Linked DNA regions of Homo sapiens: all the other regions are linked to region 4. The links are contacts of gene promoters, found by promoter capture Hi-C in blood cells and fetal thymus (Javierre and others, 2016). All regions are on one chromosome and are shown on one strand. The core of a region is centred on a gene start or on the middle of the fragment in contact, and the rest is flanking DNA. Distances in the headings are between cores, read along the strand shown.

Region 1 (5,817 bases), core at 766-3,265, 630 kb after region 4:
TACAGACACACTCAGTGATCAAAACATGAAAGGAATGGTTATTTGCTCTTCTGATTGAACAAATGAAACTAGAATTGTTCATACACATAATTTAAAAAAATATATTCAAGACACCGAAATCAGTTAACAAATATAAGAACTAAACATTAATTAGTGACAGTAAAATGGCAGAAGCAAATATAAAATACAAAAAACAGCTTTACTCAGACTTTTTGACTGCCATGTCCTCCTTTAGAAGGACTACAGTTTGGCTACTTGGTCTCTTCCGGGGCAGATGTGGCATCCTGAGGTGTGTTAGCTTCTGCCGGTGCAGATACAGCTCCTACCACAGTAGGGGTGGTCTCAGATAAAGCAGGGATGGCTTCTGGAGTGGAAGTGGCTCCTGTCTCACTGGGGGTGGTGTCAGTTTGAAAGGCTGGAGTTTCTTGACGGCAGCTGGTGTCTGTTGGACTGGGTATGATGTCAGCTTGAACAGTCATGGCCTCTTCTTCTGTTTCCAATTCTGTTTCTTGATTTTGAACTTCCTCACCCTCTTCTACCATAGCAGGTGGTAGTTGTAATAAAGTCTAATTAAAAAAAAAAAAACAAAGACAATACCAATATGAAAAACAGCTTATAAAGCTAAGCTCTCACATTACCATTCTAGAGTTCTCCAAAACAGTGCTGACCATTTTATACTCCAGATGTAACACCTCTGATGACAATGGTCTAGGTTCTGCTAACACCAAGGAATATGCCTACACAGATGTCATATACTGATAATCAAAATACATATAAAATCTTCAGAGAGGAAAACAACCATGAAAAGCTATTAGATTTTTAAGCAACATACTTTGCTGTCAACATTTCTGCAAAAAACAGTGACTGATCAGGACTGATTATAAAACTAACTCAAGAAAGGGTCAACTTTAATCAAAGAGCCCTGTGAGCTGGGTGCGGTGGCTCATGGTGGCATTCCCGGCACTTTGGGAGGCCAAGGCAGGCGGATCACTTGAGGCCAGGAGTTCGAGACTAGCCTGGCCAACATGGTGAAACCCCATCTCTACTAAAAAACACAAAAATTAGCTGAGCGTGGTGGCAGGAGCCTGTAATCCCATCTACTCAGGATGCTGAGGCAGGAGAATCACTTGACCCTGTGAGTTGGAGGTTGCAGTGAGTTGAGATTGTGTCACTGCACTCCAGCCTGGGTGACAGAGAGAGATTCTGTCTCAAGAAAAAGAAAAAGAAAAGAAAAAGAGCCCTGTGAGAGGCAGAGAGGAGCCTGGCCTTAAGGCAAAGCCATGGGAGAAGGGAGCAGCAAGGAACAAGGTTTCTGTTCCGTTCAACCAGAAAACTGGAGCAACTCTATATGCTTAGCTTGCCCTTTGCCCCATGGCAGTCTAGTGACTTTCTCATCAGGGACTCTGCTTACAATGCTGGAAATTGAATGAATGAATTGATTGATCGATTGATTGATTGACTGAGACAGAGTCCCACTCTGTCGCCCAAGCTGGAGTGCAGTGGTGCCATCTTGGCTCACTGCAACCTCCGTCTCCCAGGTTCAAGCGATTCTCCTGCCTCAGCCTCCCAAGTAGCTGGGATTACAGACATGTACCACCATGCCTGGCTAATTTTTGTATTTTTAGTAGAGACGGGGTTTCACCATGTTGGCCAGGCTGGTCTCGAACTCCTGACCGCAGGTGATCCACCTACCTCAGCCTCCCAAAGTGCTAGGATTACAGGCATAAGCCACCGCGCCTGGCCTTTAAGATTTTTAAAAAGTACCGTGCACGACAGCAGCAAAAAAAAAAAAAAAAAAAAAGAAAACGAAAAAGAAAAATACTTAGCAAAATGTTAACAAAATATGTGTAAGGTTTGTATGTTGAAAACTACAAAATCCTGATGAGAATTTAAAGAAGATCTAAATAAACGAGAGATCTTATTCATGGATAGGAAGACTTAATATGTGAAGATGTTAATCTCCCCAAATAGATCCTAAACAATCCTCCTCTTCAAAATATCCTTTTAAAAACTGCAGCATGCTTTTGGGGGTAGAAACTGACCTGCTGATTGTAAAATGTATACAGAAAAGCAAAGGAACTGGGATAGCTAAGACAATTTCTAAAATGAAGAACAAAGCTAAAGGACTTATGTTATCTAATTTCCAGACTGACTGTAAAGCTACTATAATCAAGGTAGTACAGTCATGGCAAAGGGACGGATATACAGAATAATGGAACAGAATAGAAAGCCCAGACTCTCACATATATAGTCAATTGATATTTTGACTAAGATGACAAGCAAGTCAACAAAGAAAAAAATCGCCTATTAGGGAAGTGGTGCTCAAACAACTGCATATCCACAGACAAATGAATAAAACTCAGTCCTACCTGTATCATATAAAAATTAACTCAAAATGCATCATACCTAAGTATCCAACCTAAAACTCTGCAACTTCTAGAAAAAACCTTTATACCTCTGAGTTAGGCTATGTATTTTTAGGACATAAAAAGCATGAATCATAAAAGAACACTTTGATACATTGAACTTCATCAAAATTTAAAACTTTTGCTCTTTGAAAGACACTTACAAAATAAATAAACAAGCCAGAATGGGAGAAAATATTTGTAAAATACATATCAGATAAAGGACTTGTAGCCAGAATAAATAAAAACCTCTCAAAACTTAATAAAATATACAGCCTAATAAAAAAATGAGCAGGAAACCTGAGCAGACACATCCCCAAAGATATACAGATGGCAAATGACCACATGAAAAGATGCTCATCATCAGTCCTTAGGGAAATGAAAACCAAAACCATACTGAGACCACTGTATATCTATTAGAACTGCCAAAATTTTAAAAAGACGTACCATATCAAGTGAGGGTGAGGATGTGTAGCAACTAGAACTCTCACACTGCTGCTGAGAGTGTAAAGTGGTTCAACCACTTTGAAAAACAGGTTGGTAGCTTCTTAAAAAGTTAAACACATCCTTAACATAAATTCAGCCATTCCACTCTTAGGTATCTACCCAAGATAAAGTACAAAGACTTGTATAAGCAATAGTAGCCAGAAAAAATAAGAATACATACTGTATGCTTCCATTTATATAAAAATCTAGAAAATAGAAGCAAACCTATCATGACAGAAAGCAGATCCTTGGCTGCCTGGGAAGGTAAAAAGGGGACTGGTGAAGGGCAAGGAGGGATTACAAATGGGCACAAGGGAAAACTCTTGGGATAATGGATATGCTCTTTATCTTGACTGTGCTGATGGCTTCACAGGTAAATACCTATGCCAGAACATATAAAATTTTACACTTTAAGTTTGTGGACTTTATTGTATGTGGAATTCTAACTATATAAAGAAGTTTTAAAAATACGAATGTTACATAAATAATAATAGCCTGCTTTAGTTTAGCTGATTTCCCACAAGGAATTAGGTACTTTAAAGATTTATTCTGAAAAAAAGAAAATTATTTCTACAGCAAGAAAAATAAAAGTCGATTTTGAGAAACTCACCTGATGATAATGATGTGTAGTCTGTATCAAATGCATGTACATGTTGTATACAAAGTTTGCCATCTGGGGCATATTTTTTATTATTTGTACTTCATGAGATGGTCTCTCTCCATTCTAGAAGAAGGAAAAAAGAACGTTAAGTATCTAGTAAAACAACCCTAGAAGGTAACACTTCAACATAAACCCATTTCTTAATCTTATGAATAAGCACAATTAGGGTCTGGAAGACCTAACAGTAAGAGGACATAAAATGCAAGTGTGAAGAGTCCAATGAAGACTTCATGAATGTTAAAAAAAGACTTAAATAGAATTAATAAAAAGGGGGCCCAGGTCAGCACGCTCTGCCTGCTGGCCACGTGACTCCCATTAAAAAAAAAAAAAGACTTCATGAAGAATAGTGATTCCATTGAAATTTAGAAAGGTTAGAGACTAGAAGAGCTAAGAGTTGCCAGCTTTTAATATAATTTTGGGCTGGTAAGTTAAGTATGGGTTTTAGTTTACTATCTAATATAAAAGAATTAGTACAAGATAAGTAATTATTTGACTAGAGAGAAAAGTCAACACAGTCTGAAACAGCAGTTTCTAAGACTGTGTATGCTCCAAAGACAGTTCTTAAGATAATTCAGAAAGAAAATATTAACACTCTTTGTCCTACTTATATTTTTCTAAAAAGTAAGAGGCTAACATTTACTTTTATTTAACACATATACTATGAGTCAAGAGGGTGAATATTCAAATGCTCTTTTTAAGATTTTGGTGTCTATCAGAATCATCTGGGGTAGACTGTTAAATTGCAGGTACCTAGGCTCCAGCCCTATAGATTCAGATTCAGAAGGTCTGGGTGGAATGAGCTGATTCTTCTGTAGCTTCTGACAACAATCTAAGAAACACTGCTCTATAAGTGTAGGTAAGGTAGTAAAGCAAATCAAGAAAATACAGAATTTGCACTTCTTTTTAAACCACCCTAAAATAGAGATTAACAACTTTCCTATTTATAGTTATTAATAAAATGCTTATAAAGTCTTATCCTTTCTTATGATAGGAACAATTTAGAAAATCATTAAGGTAAAAAACATACCCCAAAAAAGGAGGATTCAATCTCAAAGTGAAAAGTTATTTAAAGAGCATGAAGTTAGAAATAATTTAGTAAATTAAACAACATTTCTCAGAAGTAAGCAGGATGGCAGCATTCCATCTAAGCAGGTATTCTTTTGATTAATGGTCATTTTCTGCAATGGTCAGAACTCGTATGTACAAATACGGCCATGCTATTATGACTAGGAACATGGAAGAGTTTTTGCTTGTTAGCTTATTTTCTGGAGTCTTGCCAAGAGCTGCCTTTCCTTGAGACACAGCACTCTCCGCCCCTCACTATCTCTTGAGGAGAAGATGGGGAGATGTTCTCAGCCCTAACCTCCCCAGGGCCTTGAACTCATGAGTGTTATCTAAAGCATGGGTTTCCAAGCCTTCTGTTCAGTGATATTGTCTGACCTGCACTCCAGATTTCTTCAGGTGTGACATGTAGCCCTTACATAGAAAGCACGTGGGGAGCTTGTTACACATGATGACACCTAGGCTCTGTCCCAGACCTCTTGTCAGGAATGTGCCTGTTTACTAGCCCACAAAAGATCAAGAAACTCGGATATAATAGGATTGTGTCTAGACTTGAGCCTGACACTTGAGGCTTTATGTGACCCTACCACCCCATGATCTCTCTCCACCATTTTCCTATTTCTCCACAGCAGCATTTCTTCAAAAATAAGTAAATAAAAAGGCACTTTTTATAAAGTACTTATTATTATTAAACACACAAGATTTAAGTTTTTTTTTAGTAGGGGTGGAGGGAAGACGTATACTGTGAACATCTAAAATAATGTTATTTAAAATCCAATGGACCCCCCTAGGACAATTCATTAAATGAAAAAGCAAAGCCCAAAAGTCTATAGTATAATAACCTGAAGGAAAATAATATAAAAGTAACATATCTCTTCTCCTTTATACAAAAGGAATATAAGGATAAACGTGAAACTAAAGAAACTGGTTACCTATGGAGGGAAGGTGCTAGGAAAAGGGGAGAAAGAAGGGGAGATAAGAGGGAGTAGTATTTCTCTATCTTTTCTTTAAATATATGTGCTCTCTCCTCCCTCATTTCCCCAGAATGTAAGCTTCTTAAGAACTCAACTATTTATTGCTCTATTTCCAAGTAAGTAGTTAAGTTCTCCTTACAAAGCTGAAGACAAACAGTACAGTATAATGATAAATAACATGAACTCTGGGATGTTATTCGAAAAGACCTCCTGGCTTTTCAGATCTTGG
Region 2 (5,770 bases), core at 2,648-5,147, 690 kb after region 4:
AAAACTGGCACCTCAAAACTATAAGAATCTAATGAATGCCTGAAATGCAGCATATCTGATAACAACTTATTTTTGTTTTCACACAGATGTTAAAACCAGATTAATAAATGTTGGCTATTAAGAATTAGGGGTGAGGCCGGGCACGGTGGCTCACGCCTGTAATCCCAGCACTTTGGGAAGCCGAGGCCGGTGGATCACCTGAGGTCAGGAGTTTGAGACAGCCTAGCCAACATAGTGAAACCCCATCTCTACTAAAAATACAAAATATTAGCTGGGTGTCATGGCGGGCGCCTGTAATCCCAGCTACTCAGGAGGCTGAGGCAGGAGAATCACTTGAACCCGGGAGGCAGAGGTTGCAGGAAGCCAAGATCATGTCCTTGCACTCCAGCCTGGGCAACAAGAGCAAAACTCCGTCTCAAATAAAAAAAAAAAAAGAGAGAGAATTGGGGTGAAGGATGAGTTTTATTAATACATGTAATCTGCATATGAGTGATCTGTATGTAAACAGTACTCCTTCAAAGTATTTAAAGATACTTGTACTAACAGTCTCAAGTAGTTTAAAACTTCTTCCCTTATCACCTAATTTATATTTGGCAAAATACTGAAGTGAATAATGTTACCATAAATTTAGCCCATGACAAAATTTAGCATGAACACTGAATTATTATGTTACATTGCATAAATCAATCTCCAATGATTATTATTGTGCTCTGAACTTGCCTTCTGGCTAAACTTTAAGGACCAGACATTGTTTGTATGTTATTCCAGACTCCCCCTTTTCATTATTCTCACTTAACACTATTTCTCTTAGACAATAAGTGACCACTGAGCTGCAATATCAAAAAGGTTTTAAAAAATCCCAGAACACATTTTACTGATAAGTCATAGTCTCATCATTGTTGTCCATACTACCAAAAAAAAAAATAAACTTAAATACAACAAACATTGATGTACAAAAATTTAACATTATTTATATTAGTAAACTCTGACTTGTAATCTAACTCAATTTCTTTCAATAGCACATTTTTATTTAAAAAAATGACAACTAAAATGTCACCACTTTGCAACACTCACTGAATTAACAAATCTAGGTGTTAAATATCTATAGCTACTAATAGCACAAAAAAAGAGACAAGTAGATAGTATGTGCCTCCTGATGAAAGAACACACCACCACCAAGAATCTTGCCAAGGATAACCTTAGCCTGATCAAGCCTCTGCACAAGGTGGTACTAATTTGCAAGAAAAATAAAGAACAGAGGAACATGCTGCAATATACCATGAGTATTCAATCAGAAAAATCTATAGACTACGGGAACTCTATGATCAAACAACTCAAGTTCTTCAGCAGAACAAAAAAAAAAAAAAAAAAAGAAAGAAAGAAAAAAAGGGATGTATAGAAGGTACCAGTAAAGTAAAAGACATTTTTTTAATGAAACCTTGTAACCACCTTGTCAGCTATCCCAGAATACTCCTATGTGCCCTTTCCTGGTTACAGCTTCTTCCCTTTACCCGAAAGTAACTATTTTCTGACTTTTATAGCAATCGCTATCTTGAATTTCTTTATAGTTTTATCATCCAGGTGTGCATCCCTAGACATGAGAAAGCAACATATTAACCACTGTAAGAACATAAAAAGATATGAAGACTGCCTATGTTCTGAAATCTAGCACAATATTAGTGCACTGGGTCTATCGGAGTTATGGCTCTAGGATATGTCTTAGATTAACCATTTTAAGTAAATATACCAATACTTATACTTGTGATGTCTTTAAAACAGTCACATTTCTTCTACTAATGATGCCATTGTTCAAAAAAGTCCTGAAATTTCTTTTGAAATATACCTTCAAAGTATATCTGAATGCACTTTTGCATATACTCAGTTGTGGCAAATTCTCATCCTCAGAGGATGCGTGAAAAGTGTTTAGATCCAAATCTGGGGAAATAAGTGAACAAACTAGGCAATACCATTTTGGATCAACACTAAGGGTTTACTATCAATAAATGATAATGTCTTTTTTTTGGTGATCATTACCTGCTTTACATAGAATTCAAAAGAGCCCCTAAGAAAAGCCTTTGAAAAACAAAAGCTCTATCAAACACAGCCTATCATAGTGACAAAATGAAAGCTATACTTCATGCATTATAAGGTCTCCTTGAAAACAGTCTTATGGTCAGCTGCAGTGGTTCACACCTATAATCCCAGCACTTTGGGAGGCTGAGGTGGGCAGATCGCTTGAGCTCAGGAGTTCGAGATCAGCCTGAGCAACATGGCGAGACCTTGTCTCTACTAAAAAAAAAAAAAAAAAGCTGGGTGTGGTGGTGCACGCCTGTGGTCCCAGGTACTCGGGAGGCTGAAGTGGGAGGATCACTTGAGCCCAGAGACTGAGGCTGCAGTGAGCTGAGACTGCACCACTGCGCTCCAGCCTGGGTGACAGAGCAAGACCCTGTCTCACACTAACAAACAAAAAAAACCAAAACAGTCTTAGGGCTTTATGGTCGTATTTTTTACAGGGTGATATGTGTATAGTTAAATTTAATAAAAACCCTTAGTGCTAAAGCATTCAAAATACTAAATCTTTTCTAGCTTCTAAAGTTAACTTCTGGGCACCAGGAAATTATCCTAATGTACAGAGTAGACTCAAGTACACTGCCTATAATTGCCAATTATATATGATAAATCTGAAATTGTTTCATTGTACAGCTGAATCCATACTTCTTTACCATACCTTCTCCAGAATAGTACTCAGTTGGGACAATATTTTCATCCCATATAATTTTCTCAGTTGGATACAAAGGCATCTGGTTCAACTGCTGAATCTGAGAAATTCGACGTTCATGACGAGATACCTAAAATAAAGGAAACAAGTTCATGCAGAAGGTTAGAAGCATCTTTTTTCAATCAAAATAATTTATGGAAGAAGTTTCATGCCTATCAGTTATTGTAGCAGTTCAACAAGCGATTTTTTTTTCTTTTCCTATTTTCTCCATAGATCAAAGATGAGAAACAAACCAATGGTAATGGTCTTTGGAATCAGACAGACCTGAGTTCAAATCCCAGCTCCTCTACTTATGAGTACTGTAAAAGCTGGGCACGTTACTTTAACCTTCCTAACCTTAGTTTCCTTTTCACTAAAACAGATAAAGTGCCACACATCTCAAGTTTCCAATGAAATATGAAATAGTGTCAAAGTCCCTGGCACATGCCAAGGGTTTAAAAACCATGACACTTAGCATTAATCAATGTAGGAAAAAATAGGAGCTCTAGGTTTTGGACTATAGTTTTCATTCTTATACTAACTAGCTATACCATCTGGGAAAGTTTATTAATCTATCACCCTAGTCTTCTCACTCTATGTTCCTTTCCATGATGACCTCTGTGTACCCTTAATATTAATAATCTATCTCAAATATGAAAATAAGTGTTACACCGGGTGCAGTGGCTCATGCCTTTAATCCCAGCACTTTGGGAGGCTGAAGCAGGTGGATCACCTGAGGTGAGGAGTTCAAGACTAGCCTGACCAACATGGTGAAACCCCATCTCTACTAAAAATACAAAAATTAGCTGGGCGTGGTGGTGCACACCTGTAATCCCAGCTACTCAGGAGGCTGAGGCAAGAGAATTGCTTGAACCCGGGAGGCGGAAGTTGCAGTGAACCGAGATTGCACCATTGCACTCCAGCCTGGGGGACAGAGTGAGACTCCATCTCAAAAAAAAAAAAAAAAGAAAGAAAAAGAAAAATAAGTGTTTATCTAATAATGCTAAAATGACATATTCTTAAAATGTATCACATTCTCTTCAGTGAAGATAGTATAATTATAGAAAAAATCATGATATCTAAACAATATGTATGTTTTAACTTTTTGATCATAAATTGAATAGTAGAAGAATCCAAAGCCTGGGGAAATCCTTTAGGGAAGGGAGGAAACAAAACATAATGTTGTAGCACTATACATTTTAAAAATTATTTTCTTTTGTTGGAACTATTTAAATTTTAGGAATAAAATTCTAGCCACAAGACCTTAATAGGCACAGGATCAACGTTATCCTCAAACTTATTTTCCATTAGAAGAATTCCTGAAAACAGGTTGGGCACGGTGATTCATGCCTGTAACCCAACACTTTGGGAGGCTGAGGTGGGTCAATCACTTGAGGCCAGGAGTTCAAGACCAGCCTGGCCAACGTGGCGAAACTCTATCTTCTACTCAAAATACAAAAATTAGCTGGGAGTGGTGGCACACATCTGTAATACCAGCTACTCGGGAAGATGAGGCACGAGAATCACTTGAACCTGGGAGGCAGAGGTTGCAGTGAGCTGAGATCACGCCACTGCACTCCAGCCTGGGCGACAGAGAGAGACTCGGTATCAAAAAAACAAAACAAACAAACAAACAAAAAAACAAAAAAAGAAGAAGAATTCCTGAAAAAAATCCTCATTTCTTTCTATTGCAAAGAGTTATTATTAATTCCAAAAACCTTACTCATGAGAGGTTTTACATTGTCAGAAAATAGCACAGGAATTTTTAGGAACTGAAAGAGACAATGAAAGTGATTTGCATATAAATAGTTGCTAATAGAATGATTCATCCAGAAAGTAGTTCGAAGAGATAAAATACTTGAGTAAAGAAATTCGAAAGATGAGAAAACAAAAAATCAAATGATAATACAATTCCAAAAACAAAATGGGAATTATCTGCCTAATCTTTGGCCCACAAAAAAATCTATATGAACCTACATCTTTAAGAATGACTTTAAAAGGCAAGGAAAACCACATGCAAAATTCAGAGAACATTAATATTTACCAGCAATTCTAGAAGAAATTCTTTATCAAAAGTTGTGTCTTCATTTTTAGGAAGAGTTGGCAACAAGCAGAGGTATGATGCCACCTGGTGGAGTGTGTTTGAACTGCAGAATAGAGAACAATATTTTATTCATAGTAACTTACTTCACTTCACTTTTGAAACATGTATTTTTACAAATAGCTTAAAAAAGCAAATATAATACTATGACATGGGCAGCAAATATCAAAAACCAGCAATGAAAATTAAGGCTTTAGTGCAGGGTTCTCAAAATATTTTCTGCAAACCTCTCATTGTACCCAAGATCCTTCTGGGCAGTCCCCAAGAACACTTTTAAATATTAATACCGGCAGGGCAAGGTGGCTCAGGCCTGTAATCTCAGCACTTTGGGAGGCCGAGGCAGGCAGATCCCGGGGTCAGGAGATCGAGACTATGCTGGCTAACATGGTGAAATTCCGTCTCTACTAAAAATACAAAAAATTAGCCGGGCGTGGTGGCGGGCGCCTGTAGTCCCAGCTACTCGGGAGGCTGAGGCAGGAAAATGGCGTGAACCCGGGAGGCGGAGCTTGCAGTGAGCCGAGATCGCGCCACTGTACTCCAGCCTGGGCGACAAAGCGAGACTCCGTCTCAAAAATAATAACAATAATAATAACAATACTAAGACATTGTTTCACAGTTTTATTTAAGAATGTCCTTGATGAAGCAGTAAAAAAAAATTAATACTATTAAATTTGGACTCGAGTACCTGTTTTATTTTAAATTCTGTGACAAAATGGGAAGTACATATTTTGCACACAACTTTTACTTTAAAAAACAACAAACTGTTGGACCGGGTGCAGTGTCTCACACCTGTAATCCCAGTACTTTGAGGCCGAGGTGGGCGGATCACAAGGTCAGGAGTTTGAGATCAGCCTGGACAATATGGTGAAACCCCGTCTCTACTAAAAATACGAAAATTAGCCAGGCGTGGT
Region 3 (6,034 bases), core at 3,466-5,965, 720 kb after region 4:
GTGAGCCACAGTCGCACTATTGCACTCCAGCCTGGGCAACAAGAGCGAAACTCCGTCTCAAAAAAATAAAAAAAGAGTGAAGGAGTAAGAAAAAGAAAGAGAAGTTATATTAATAGCCTGAAGATAGTGGAGAAAATTGAGAACCATCCATGAGGGAGACGGACAATAGGCAGGGAGAAAAACAGTGGGTCAACTATATATACTTAGCAGCACAGAAAGAAGGAAAAGAAGAAAAGCATGATGCTCTGGCTTCTGCTTTAGATCTTTGTGGAAAATATTCTTAATGACAGTCTAGGTAAAAGCACTTATTATAATAATTTATTTGCACTCAGCACTATATAAAGGGAAACAACAAACCAGTCAACATCATCTAAGGTCCACAATCCAGCATAATAAGCCAACATGAAATGAAGCTCTGCCAACATACTGTTCTCTTGCTTCTGGATCCATCTTTTCATCATTCTTTTTAATCAAGTTCCAGAATTTTCTTAGCTTAGGTGTCTTTTTTAATTCTAATTCCAATCGTGCCTGAAGAAGAGATGTGTTATTAAATTACCAGTAGCCTCAAAGTTTACAAGGATAAGGATTAGATCAACTATTTGCTAGTTTTCTAATATATGAGTACAAAATAGAGCAATCTGATAAAACCTGAAAATAACATGACAAACCCTGAAAATTAAGAAATGAATAACGATATTTTAAAAAATTATTCAACTCTAGCTCTTGTTAATAAAAATACAAATCAAGATTGTAAGCTCAATAATCAATTAATTTTTTATTTCAAAACTTAAAGAGCTAAGTCTGAAAAATATATGCATCAACACTTAGCATAATCACTAAGGTTTGAAAAATATGAGTCTGAAACAATGCACAAAAAACAGCGATCACAAGTAAATAAGGAAATGTCCACATCAGCATATTCTCTCTTATAGCACTTGCCACTTTTTAACTTAGTATTAATTATTTATACGTGCCTTATGTTTTCATCCCCATCAACTGGTGCTTATAAATGAGTCTGCATATCTGAGTATATGCAGAAACACCCATGTGCAGGAAGGGAAATTCTGAATAAAGCATTACAATGAAATCTGATAGTTTTAACTAAACTACCTAAGATGTATTAATTTGGCTTTGGTACCTGCACATATTACCCAATAAAGACTTTATGGAAAAATGGAAGTCATTAATATTAGGTATGATCCAGATCTTCTCCTACAGCTATATATATACTCTAATCAAGGAAAAAAAAATTCAAGTCCACATTTAGTCTCATCTATACTTTGCTAAATTAACCCCCTTTCTCTATAAGCTCAATAGATACTACCTTATTCATTTTATATTACTAAAATTAAGTTAAACATCGAATGCATATAAAAACTTTAAAATAAAAACTATATCTATGAAAAGTTAAGCAAAGTGGCTTTTCTAAGAAAAGGGGTATTTAGCTACCACTTGTATATCCAGATTAAGGCTATAGACTAAAACCACACGTTCTACTTATAACACATACATTCATAAGACTCTGAAATTAGAGACTTACCAGCTGTAAGCCCATCCACATTGGGAGGGAGATAAGCTGCTGTACTTGACTTCGTATCAAGTCTACTTCCTGTTTAGGGCATGAAGAAAATAAGTTTATAAACATACCAGCATTTCTACCTAAGTCTTTACATAAGAAGTATACTGCCTTTTTAAGTCCTGGAGGGAAAACATGCCACAAATATTTTCAAGTTAATATTTTGATATTAAGAAGTTCAATGCTTTAAAAAAGACTCCATCCTTATTATCTACAGATTTTGTACTTGCAAATTCATATACTAATAAAAATGTATTTGTAACCCCAAAATCAACACTCCATGTGCTTTCACAGTCATCCAGATGGCCCAAACAAAAATCTGAGTTGTCCGACGTGCACATTCTCAGGTGAGACTGAGCTGATGCTCTGCTTCATTCTCAGCTCTCATACTGTAAGAAACAAGTATCCTTTTTGTGGTCTATTGAGTACTATTTTTTTTGGCACGCTTGTGCTTTTTGATGATTTCGCTGTTTAAAATGGCAACAAGCCCAAGGCTGAAGTGCTGTCTGATGTTCATGGGTGCAAGAAGGCTGTGATATGTCTTACAGAGTAAATACGTATGTTAGATAAGCTTCGTTCAGGCATAATTACAGTGCTGTTGGCAGTGAGTTCATGGTTAATGAATCAATAATATACAATAAATAAGCTGTCTTTAAATAGAAACACACATAAAATAAGGCTATGTATTGATAGTTTGTAAAATGTCATGACCAAGGCTTGCAGGAACCTAACCCTGTATTTCCCCAAGGAGTAATGGTTCAGCATTAGCTCATTCAATGTTCATAGCTACTTTATAAAATGAACATAACTACCTCAAATAAGAACTGACTGCATATTTTAAAAGATAAAGCATTTCAATAATAAACTAGTTTGGTAAGTTGGCTAAAACTATCACCAAATTACTAATACTAATAAAATCTTGTTTCTGTTTAGTTTCTGATAAAAAAATCACATCTATTTATATTTCTATTTGTTCTGTTTAGTTTAATAAATGTTAAAGAGGCTTTCTGTGCCGATAACGCTCACGCAAGCATGGTTAACGTCCCTAAAACCCGCCGGACTTTCTGTAAGAAGTGTGGCAAGCACCAACCCCATAAAGTGACACAGTACAAGAAGGGCAAGGATTCTCTGTATGCCCAGGGAAAGCGGCGTTATGACAGGAAGCAGAGTGGCTATGGTGGGCAAACTAAGCCAATTTTCTGGAAAAAGGCTAAAACTACAAAGATTGTGCTAAGGCTTGAGTGCATTGAGCCCAACTGCAGATCTAAGAGAATGCTGGCTATTAAAAGATGCAAGCATTTTGAACTGGGAGGAGATAAGAAGAGAAAGGGCCAAGTGATTCAGTTCTAAGTGTCATCTTTTATTATGAAGACAATAAAATCTTGAGTTTATGTTCAAAATAAATAAATAAATAAATAAATAAATAAATAAATAAAAATAAATGTTAAAGAGATAACAGTGGTATCCAGTGCAGGCATCATAAATCTTTTTTTATGCCTTTAAAAGATCCATGTGAGATAGTACATGGAAACAGGTAATAATCATCCATCTATTAACACTCAGTCTTCAGAATAAGAAAGAACTCCATGCATTCCTCCTGCATGGGTGTAAGTGAATTATCAATTCAGAGGCACTAAATAAATATGTGTATTTATCAGCTAACCACACAGGAAAGCTCAAATAAAATATTACTGAAAATATTTAATTTTTTAGAAGATAATCTTATGAAGGATGAAAATGTATCACACACAAGACATTTTCAAAGATCATTTACACTTGGCCTTTATCAGTCAACTCAAAATACAACTCTCCTGTTGACTAACCAGCCTATGCATAAGGCATGATGAAAAGCAATGAAACTACATTCCTGTATGTATATGCAGTTTGTGGCACAGATCTCATTACTCCAATTCCATATAACCAGTCTCCTTGCTGCTTCTCATTTTTGTGCTCTCCCTTTAGAGTTTCAGTTCTTATAATCATTTTTCTTAAGAGTCTAGATAGAAAAAATTAAGTATCAATTTCAAATCTATTAAAAAGTGAACATATCTTATAAAAACATATCTTAAAGACTTATAAAATGGTTTTACTGATAAGTGGCTGAAATCAAGCTTTTAGCATTATCCTTATTGCCTGCTATTATGGATGAATGGAGTTGGCTACAGAGGTAATTTCATCTAAACTCAACCTAAAAGAACAAGAAAACTTGAAAATTACCCCAAAATATAAAGTAAAAGTACCAAACTATTGAAGCAATGATCAAGAAAAAGTAGTAAGACTGTCTGTTCATGAAGTGAAAATTCACCATCAGTTTCAGCTAATGCCGCCTTCAAGATGTGTTTAAAAAAGAATGGGAAGTGGTCTGGCTTCTTCTTAAAAATCTGAAAAGAAACAGAATAAAATTCATTTTGTATTGGCTTGCTCACTTAAGCTTTAAAGAAGCCCTAGTAGGCTTTTTAGCAGTCTATTAAAAAAACCAAATAATTACAAAAGGGTTATTTGTATATGTATAAAAGAAGCATCACGTGCTTACTTATAATTAATGGCAAGTCAAATACAGGTTTCTGACAGGACTATGAGAGAGCTGCAGAACCCTTTAGCTAATAAAATAATGGCTTTCATTTCTTTAGTTTTTCCTCTGTGGATTATGCCTGTATTTAGCTTAGGCTTTGTTTTCTTATTAAGGATCTGAAGTGTTTTAATTTCTCTGATTTAAACAAAAGAAACTACATCTTTAGCAAAAATTGTAGTTTTCACACTGTAATTAATCTCAAGAACAGCCCCTCCTGCTTTATATTAGCTCTTTACTCTTAACTTGTAAATAATGTAAATATATTCAAGCCTCTTTGACCTACCTCTGTTTCTAGTTACTGCCACAGACAAATGCTCCAAGCGTGTGGTCTATACTAGTTGTTTTCATTCACTTCTCTAAGACAAGCTCTCCTGAAGCTGTATGGCTGTCAAGTCCTATGGACCCTTATTAACTCTCAACTCCTTTTCACCATATTGAAGGCTCTTCTTCTTTTGCCTGTTATCTAAACCGCAATATTCGTAGGGTTCTAGCCTCATTCTTCTCCCTCTATTACTTCAACCACTAAATACCAATGATTCCAAATATACATCTGCAGTCCAGATTTCTCTTCTGAGCTCTCAAACCTTAGATTCCTCTACTAGATGACTTAATCTAGATATTCCAAAGGCAATTTAAACTGAATATGTCCAAATTCAATTCAACAGTTTTGTATCCTCCAAATTATTCCTCACTCTCTATTACCTATCTTGGTAAATGGCACCATCATATATTATATTCATTTGCCCAAGCCTGGAAGGTTATTGAAAATAACACCCTTTCCTAATGCTACTTCAACTGATTATCAAATTCAATCAATTCTACCTTCTACATCTCTGTATATCCTCTAAATCTGTATTATCATTTCTCTATTTCAAGGCCTAATCACCAAAGTGATCTTTATAACAGGTAAACTGACCAGGTTATTCCCTGGCTCAAAAAATTTTCCTTCTTCCTTTCTGTATTTCTATAATAGCTTGAAGCAACTTGAAGAAACCCCTAGGCTCTCTTGATAGTGACATAAAACCCATAGTTTATTCTGAGCTCTAATGTGCCCTGAGATGGTAGTCATTTAATGAATATTTGAGATAAGTGTCCATGGTTTTATCTTAAAGACTCTATCACCTTTTCACTTTGGTGACCATTTACTCAAAACAGATGACAGGCATCCATTCCTTTTTTTCATTTAAAAAAGTCTGACTGGAAGAGAAGAAACTCTTGATGAAGTGACCATTATATGGCGGGCAAAGAAAACAAAGATTTTGGATCCCTACTGATCAAGCTTCTGTTGCACCAGCACAAAAAGGAAACATCAGTGCATTAGAAATTTCTAAAAGGAAAAATAGATCCCAAATCAAGGACAAAAAGAACAGGCCAGGCACAGTGACTCATGCCTGTAATCCCAGCACTTTGGGAGGCCGAGGCGGGTGGATCATCTAAGGTCAGGAGTTTGAGACCAGCCTGGCCAATATGGTGAAACCCCATCTCTACTAAAAATACAACAATTAGCTGGGCATGGTGGCGGGCACCTGTAATCCCAGCTTCTTGGGAGGCAGAGGCAGGAGAATTGCTGGAACCTGGGAGGCAGATGTTGCAGTGAGCTGAGATCACGCCATTTGCACTCCAGCCTGGATAACAAGAGCTAAATTCAGTCTCAAAACAAAAAACCAAAAGAACATTGAAATTATAATGTAAGCATCTGTCTTGACTTTGGTAACTTTTTTTATTCATGTAAAACTACAAATATAAACTCCCTCTTGAGGTCGGGGGGGTCAGCCCCCCGCCCGGCCAGCCGCCCCGTCCGGGAGGGAGGTGGGGGGGGTCAGCCCCCCGCCCGGCCAGCCGCCCCGTCCAGGAGGGAGGTGGGGGGGTCAGCCCCCCGCCCGGCC
Region 4 (6,006 bases), core at 557-3,056:
TTCTTTAAAAATGTGCATACTCTTTGATCCAGCAACTCCAATTTCACTTCTAGGACTATAACTTTAGGAAATAAGAAAAGACATACAGATATGTTCACAGCAACACTGGTTATAAAAGGAAGGAAAACAGGAAACAATTTAAATGTCCAATAATAGGCTATATTATGAAAAAGGTATACCATACAAAACCCAATCACTTTAAAGAATGACATACATTATTTAATGACACGTCATTAAAAACACATCAATGGTGTTATTTGGTAATGATGTGATACATCATTAAAAACACCACATAACCTAGCACTTTGGGAGGCCGAGGCAGGCAGATCACCTGAGGTCGGGAGTTCGAAACCAGCCTGACCAACACGGTGAAATCCCATCTCTACTAAAAATACAAAATTAGCTGGACGTGGTGGCGTGCGCCTGTAATCCCTGGTACTCGGGAGGCTGAGGCAGGAGAATTGCTTGAACCCGGGAGACGGAGGTTGCAGTGAGCCGAGATAGTGCCATTGCACTCCAGCCTGGGCAACAAAAGCAAAACTCCGTCTCGAACAAAAACACAAACAAACCAAACACCAGATATGTGGTGGGCACTAATCTCACAAGCCTTGAAAGTAGGTAGATTATCCAACTTTTACATGAAGAGGCTGAAACAAATTCAACTTGCCCAAGGTCATACAATTATTAAGTGGTGAAACCAGGATTCAAAAGGAGGCCATCTGCTGGGTGCAGTGGCCCATGCCTTTGTAATCTCAACATTTTGGGAGGCCAAGGCAGGAGAATCACTTGAACCCAAGAGTTTGAGAGCAGCCTGAGCAACATAGCGAAACCCTGTCAAAACAAAACAAAACAAAACAAAACAAGACTGGGGCGTGGTGGCGCGCCCTGTGGTCCTAGCTCCTCGGAACGCTCAGGTTGGAAGGAACGCTCAGGTGGGAAGATCGCTTGAGCCGGGGAAGTCGAGGCTGCAGTGAGCCGTGATAGCGCCACTGCACTACAGCCTCGGCAACGGAGTGAAACCCTGTCTCAAAAAACAAACCCAAAACAAACAACAACAAACGCAGGCTAACTGAATACCGAGCCCATGTCCCCTTCCATGCCCACAATGCTGCCTTGCCTTTGTGCAGAATGTGGTTAGAACTGTTTACCTCGCAAGGTTACTGTGCAAGTGAAATGAAATAAACACATGACACAGTGGACATTCAATACTCAGAAACTACTAAGTAACTCGCTCAAGGTCAAGCTAGGATTTAAACCCAGGATTTGAATCTTTTGTTCCAGGGAGCGCGTAGGAGGTTAAGAAGCTTTTCTTGGCTTCCTTTTTTTTTTTTTTGAGACAGAGTTTCGCTCTTGCTGCCCAGGCTGGCGTGCAATCGCTCGGTCTCAGTTCACTGCAACCTCCGGCTCCCGGATCCAAGCGATTCTCCTGCCTCAGCCTCCTAAGTAGCTGGGATTACAGGCGCCCGCCACTAAGCCCGGCTAATATTTTGTATTTTTAGTAGAGACGGGGTTTCACCATGTTAGCCAGGCTGGTCTCGAACTCCTGACTTCAGGTGATCCGCCCACCAATTCTTAACGCTGAGTCAGTATGGGCTTTCCTTCAGCCCCATAAAGTGCACCTCAGAGGTCAGGGAACACATAACAAGGACATTCAAAAGGGGAGCGCGCGGAAGTGGCTTTAGGAAGCACTAAGTCTTGCCTGGTTTTTTTTCCTCCCTGCTTTTCTAAATCCAAACCCGGACTCCTCAACCCACAGCACCACCAATTTCCAGGGCGGAAATGACGTCGTATTCACGCGCCGGAAGTGCATTTGCAGAGTGAGACAAAGCGGAGAACGCTGGTGGGCCTGTTGTGGAGTACGCTTTGGACTGAGAAGCATCGAGGCTATAGGACGCAGCTGTTGCCATGACGGCCCAGGGGGGCCTGGTGGCTAACCGAGGCCGGCGCTTCAAGTGGGCCATTGAGCTAAGCGGGCCTGGAGGAGGCAGCAGGTGAGGCACCTGGGCAAGCTGTACATCACTGTTCATCCCAGAACTGCACCAGAGTAATGAGACCTGAGCCCTCAGGCATAACTCTGAAAAAGATGGGTGGCACACAGACATCACCTGGGGAGGTAGCGGCTTTTCTGCCGTGGAAGTTTCTCTGCTCAAACAATGCTTACATCAGTCCTCCTGATAAGTCAAAGGACTGAGGAACATACGAGGGGGCTTGGTCTAATCTGAGTAGGTGCATCTGAAGATCTTTATTCCTATGATTGGTAGATCAGGAAATGTGGGATAAGAAGTATCGGAGGTTGCAGCTTTAGTTTCTTGGTTTGGTTTTTTAGGGGTCGAAGTGACCGGGGCAGTGGCCAGGGAGACTCGCTCTACCCAGTCGGTTACTTGGACAAGCAAGTGCCTGATACCAGCGTGCAAGAGACAGACCGGATCCTGGTGGAGAAGGTACAGAGGTATAGATGTTACCGTAGCCCATGGGCCAGTCCTGAGTTACACACTCATCCTCTTCTCCTAGGTGGAGTTAACGTAGATAGCTCTTATCCTGAAGATTTGGAAACTAAACTGCTTGAGGCTGGTATTTCGGTATTTTATATATCAGCTACAAAAGTGCTTAATAATTTGAAAAATAGAAGATGTTTGGAACATAAGGTATAAGAAAGTAGGTTGAAAACTATCTTTTGGTGGCAACATCTTCCAGTTGAAGTGATCCTTTTTCTACTCTGGTTCCCTTACACCACATATCCAACTGTCAGGATACTCTGTTGGCTTTACCTACTACTTTTTCCTGTGTTCACCTCTCATCCTAATCCAAGCCACCATCCTTCATCTAGATTTCTGCAGTAGCCCGGCTAATTTTTGTATTTTTAGTACAGACAGGGTATCACCATGTTTGCCAGGCTGGTCTTGAACTCCTGACCTCAGGTGATCCATCCGCCTTGGCCTTCCAAAGTGCTGGGATTGCAGGCATGAGCCACCGCGCTCGGCCCGGGGCTATTTATATTTCTAATTTCTCCTGTCATTTTGTTACATTTTTTCTAGAAACTTATCCATTTCCTAAAATTTCAAATGTATTGATATAAAGTTGTTCATAATATGATCACTTCCATATATGCAAGATCTGTGATGTTCATTTTTTCATTCCTGATATTGAATATTTTGTCTCCTCTCCTTTCTTCATCAGGCTCACCAGTATTGATTTTTTAAAAATTATTTTCATTTATTTTTACAGGTCACTGTACCCATCACCAGTATTGATTTTATTAATCTTTTCAAAAATACTTGGGTTTTTTTCTAGTTTCTTGAAATGGATGCTTAGTTTATTTTTAGACTGCCATTACTTTTTTTCTTTTCTTTTGAGACAGTCTTGCTGTTGTCGCCGAGGCTGGAATGCAATAGCACGACCTTGGCTCACTGCAACCTCTGCCTCCCAGGGTCAAGCAATTCTCCTGCCTCAGCCTCCCGAGTAGCTGGGATTATAGGCACCCACCACCACGTCCAGCTAATTTTTTTGTATTTTTAGTAGAGACGGGGTTTCACCACGTTGGCCAGGCTGGTCTGAAACTCCTGACCTCAGGTGATCCACCAAGCTCGGCCTCCCAAAGTGCTGGGATTACAGGTGTGAGGCACCGCGCCCGGCCACATTGCCATTACTTTTAATGGCAACAACCGCAGTTACTTTTGCAGCAACCTGGTAGTATGTATTTAAGGTTATAAATTTCTCAGAACTCTAGCTGTGTCCCACGAGTTTTAAAATGTGGTACTTTTGCTATCATATAAATCTATTTTCCATTATAATTTCTTCATGTATCATTGTTAATTCCCAAACATAAGAGATTTTCTAGTTACTATAAAATTATTTCTAGTTTAATATCATTGTAGTCAAAGAATATGTTTTGTACAATTTGCATTCTTTGAGATTGACATTTTCTTCATGGCTCAGCGAGTGGTCAGTTTTTGTGAATATCTTGTTTGAAAAGAATGTGAATTCTGCAATTGTTGAGTGCAGTGTTACATGTCAGTTGGGTTAAGTTTGTTAATGTCATTCAAATCTTCTATGTCTTGATTTGCCTGCTAATTCTATTATTTCTGGAACTAAATTAGTTCGATGGTTCTATTAGTTATTGACTGAGGTGTGCTAATCTCCCATTATGTGGATTTATCTATTTCTTCAGTTGTAGATAGGACATTGATAGATACATAAGTACCAGGACAAAAGCAGGGAGATCTTTTTTCCAAAATCAGGAGAAAAAAATGACATCTGGAAAACCTATAGGGAAAGGCATAACAGATGGTAAGGATACTTTATCTTGAGTAGGAGAGCCTTCCTGTGGCAACGTGGAGAAGGGAAGAGGTCGTAGAATTGAGGAGTCAGCTCAGTTAGAAGCAGGGAGTTGGGAATTCCGTTCATGTGATTTAGCATCAGTGATATGGCAAATGTGGGACTAAGGGTAGTGATCAGAGGGTTAAAATTGTGTGTTTTGTTTTAGCGCTGCTGGGACATCGCCTTGGGTCCCCTCAAACAGATTCCCATGAATCTCTTCATCATGTACATGGCAGGCAATACTATCTCCATCTTCCCTACTATGATGGTGTGTATGATGGCCTGGCGACCCATTCAGGCACTTATGGCCATTTCAGCCAGTAAGTATTCTTGAAACAATAACCCTTCCATAAGTTTGAAGAATTAAAGGCAGGCCGGGCATGGTGGCTCACGCCTGTAATCCCAGCACTTTGGGAGGCGCCAAGCTGGGTGGATCATCTGAGGGCAGGAGTTCGAGACCAGCCTGGCCAACATGGTGAAACCTTGTCTCTACTAAAAATGCAAAAATTAGCTGGGCGTGGTGGCACACGCCTGTAATCCCAGCTGCTTGGGAGGCTGAGACAGGAGAATCACTTGAACCTGGGAGGCAGAGGTTGCAGTGAGCCGAGATCGTGCCACTGCACTCCAGCCTGGGTGACAGAACGAGACTCCATCTCAAAAAAAAGGAAGAATTAAAGGTAAATTCTTAGGGACAGTTTTTGGCTAACAGGTATATAGGGGAGTGGGGTAATGGTGGTGGCATGGAGGGGAGTGTAGTGCTTACCATGGTTTTCTGTTTGCCTTTAATGGTCCTATTTGCTGTCTTACTATGGGTCTGTCTATATGAATTTAATATACAGTTGGCTTGATTCGTATTGGGGGAAAGAGTTCTTTTGGTTTGACAACTTCTGTTACCGCAACAGCTTTCAAGATGTTAGAAAGTTCAAGCCAGAAGTTTCTTCAGGGTTTGGTCTATCTCATTGGGAACCTGATGGGTTTGGCATTGGCTGTTTACAAGTGCCAGTCCATGGGACTGTTACCTACACATGCATCGGATTGGTTAGCCTTCATTGAGCCCCCTGAGGTAAGGCAAAAGAAAAGCTGAATTTTGGGTAGTTGTAGTATACAGTGAATAGCTGACCTACTTGATGGTAGGAAATTGGAGTTGGTATTTGAGTTTCTTTTTTTTTTTTTTTTTTTTTTTGAGACGGAGTATTGCTCTGTCGCCCAGGCTGGAGTGCAGTGGCATGATCTCGGCAACCTCCGCCTCCTGGGTTCAAGCAATTATTCTGCCTCAGCCTTCCAAGTAGCTGGGATTACAGGCACCTGCCACCATGCCCAGCTAATTTTTTTGTATCTTTTAGTAGAGATGGGGTTTCACCATGTTGGCCAGGCTGGTTTTGAACTCCTGACCTCAAGTGACCTGCCCACCTCTGCCTCCCAAAGTGCTAGGATTACAGGCGTGAGCCACTGCGCCTGGCCTAGGGTTTCTTAAAAAATAAGAGCCATTAGGAGTTTTTAAGTTATTATTTTTAATTAATTAATTAATTTATTTATTTTGAGACAGAGTCTCACTCTGTCGCCCAGGCTGGAGTACAGTGGTGTGATCTTGGCTCACTGCAACCTCCGCCCCCCAGGTTCAAGCGATTCTTGTGCCTGAGCCTCCCTAGTAGCTGGAATTACAGGCAACTGCCACTGCACCTGGCTAAT

The links. The method cuts DNA at HindIII sites, captures the fragments that hold promoters and counts their contacts. A CHiCAGO score of 5 or more calls a contact.
Region 1: a contact is called between a fragment that was not itself captured here and the fragment with the promoter of EMC4 in region 4, in 1 of 17 cell types (M2 macrophages). The highest score is 5.4, in M2 macrophages.
Region 2: a fragment that was not itself captured here is called in contact with the fragment with the promoter of EMC4 in region 4 in 2 of 17 cell types (neutrophils and monocytes); the score reaches 8.3 in neutrophils.
Region 3: a contact is called between a fragment that was not itself captured here and the fragment with the promoter of EMC4 in region 4, in 2 of 17 cell types (neutrophils and M0 macrophages). The highest score is 7.4, in neutrophils.

The regions. Positions count from the first base shown.
Region 1 is chr15:34,856,541-34,862,357 of GRCh38, forward strand. It overlaps AQR (aquarius intron-binding spliceosomal factor), which reads right to left. Exons shown (of 35, transcript NM_014691.3): 34 at 3,502-3,615; 35 at 1-566. The coding sequence ends at 252. Among named protein-coding and RNA genes, the nearest start is that of ACTC1, 64 kb to the left of the region's middle. The HindIII fragment of the contact is 7,297 bases long and covers 1-5,664 here.
Region 2 is chr15:34,915,530-34,921,299 of GRCh38, forward strand. AQR (aquarius intron-binding spliceosomal factor) reads right to left here. Exons shown (of 35, transcript NM_014691.3): 14 at 4,803-4,905; 15 at 2,729-2,849. Among named protein-coding and RNA genes, the nearest start is that of AQR, 51 kb to the right of the region's middle. The HindIII fragment of the contact is 9,536 bases long and covers 1-5,770 here.
Region 3 is chr15:34,940,472-34,946,505 of GRCh38, forward strand. AQR (aquarius intron-binding spliceosomal factor) reads right to left here. Exons shown (of 35, transcript NM_014691.3): 6 at 3,817-3,957; 7 at 1,541-1,609; 8 at 428-528. It also overlaps the pseudogene RPL36AP8. Among named protein-coding and RNA genes, the nearest start is that of AQR, 26 kb to the right of the region's middle. The HindIII fragment of the contact is 1,420 bases long and covers 4,006-5,425 here.
Region 4 is chr15:34,223,210-34,229,215 of GRCh38, forward strand. It overlaps EMC4 (ER membrane protein complex subunit 4), which reads left to right and starts at 1,807. Exons shown (of 5, transcript NM_016454.4): 1 at 1,807-1,991; 2 at 2,327-2,441; 3 at 4,484-4,637; 4 at 5,220-5,380. The coding sequence starts at 1,906. RefSeq lists an enhancer at 2,121-2,170. The HindIII fragment of the contact is 12,421 bases long and covers 1,303-6,006 here.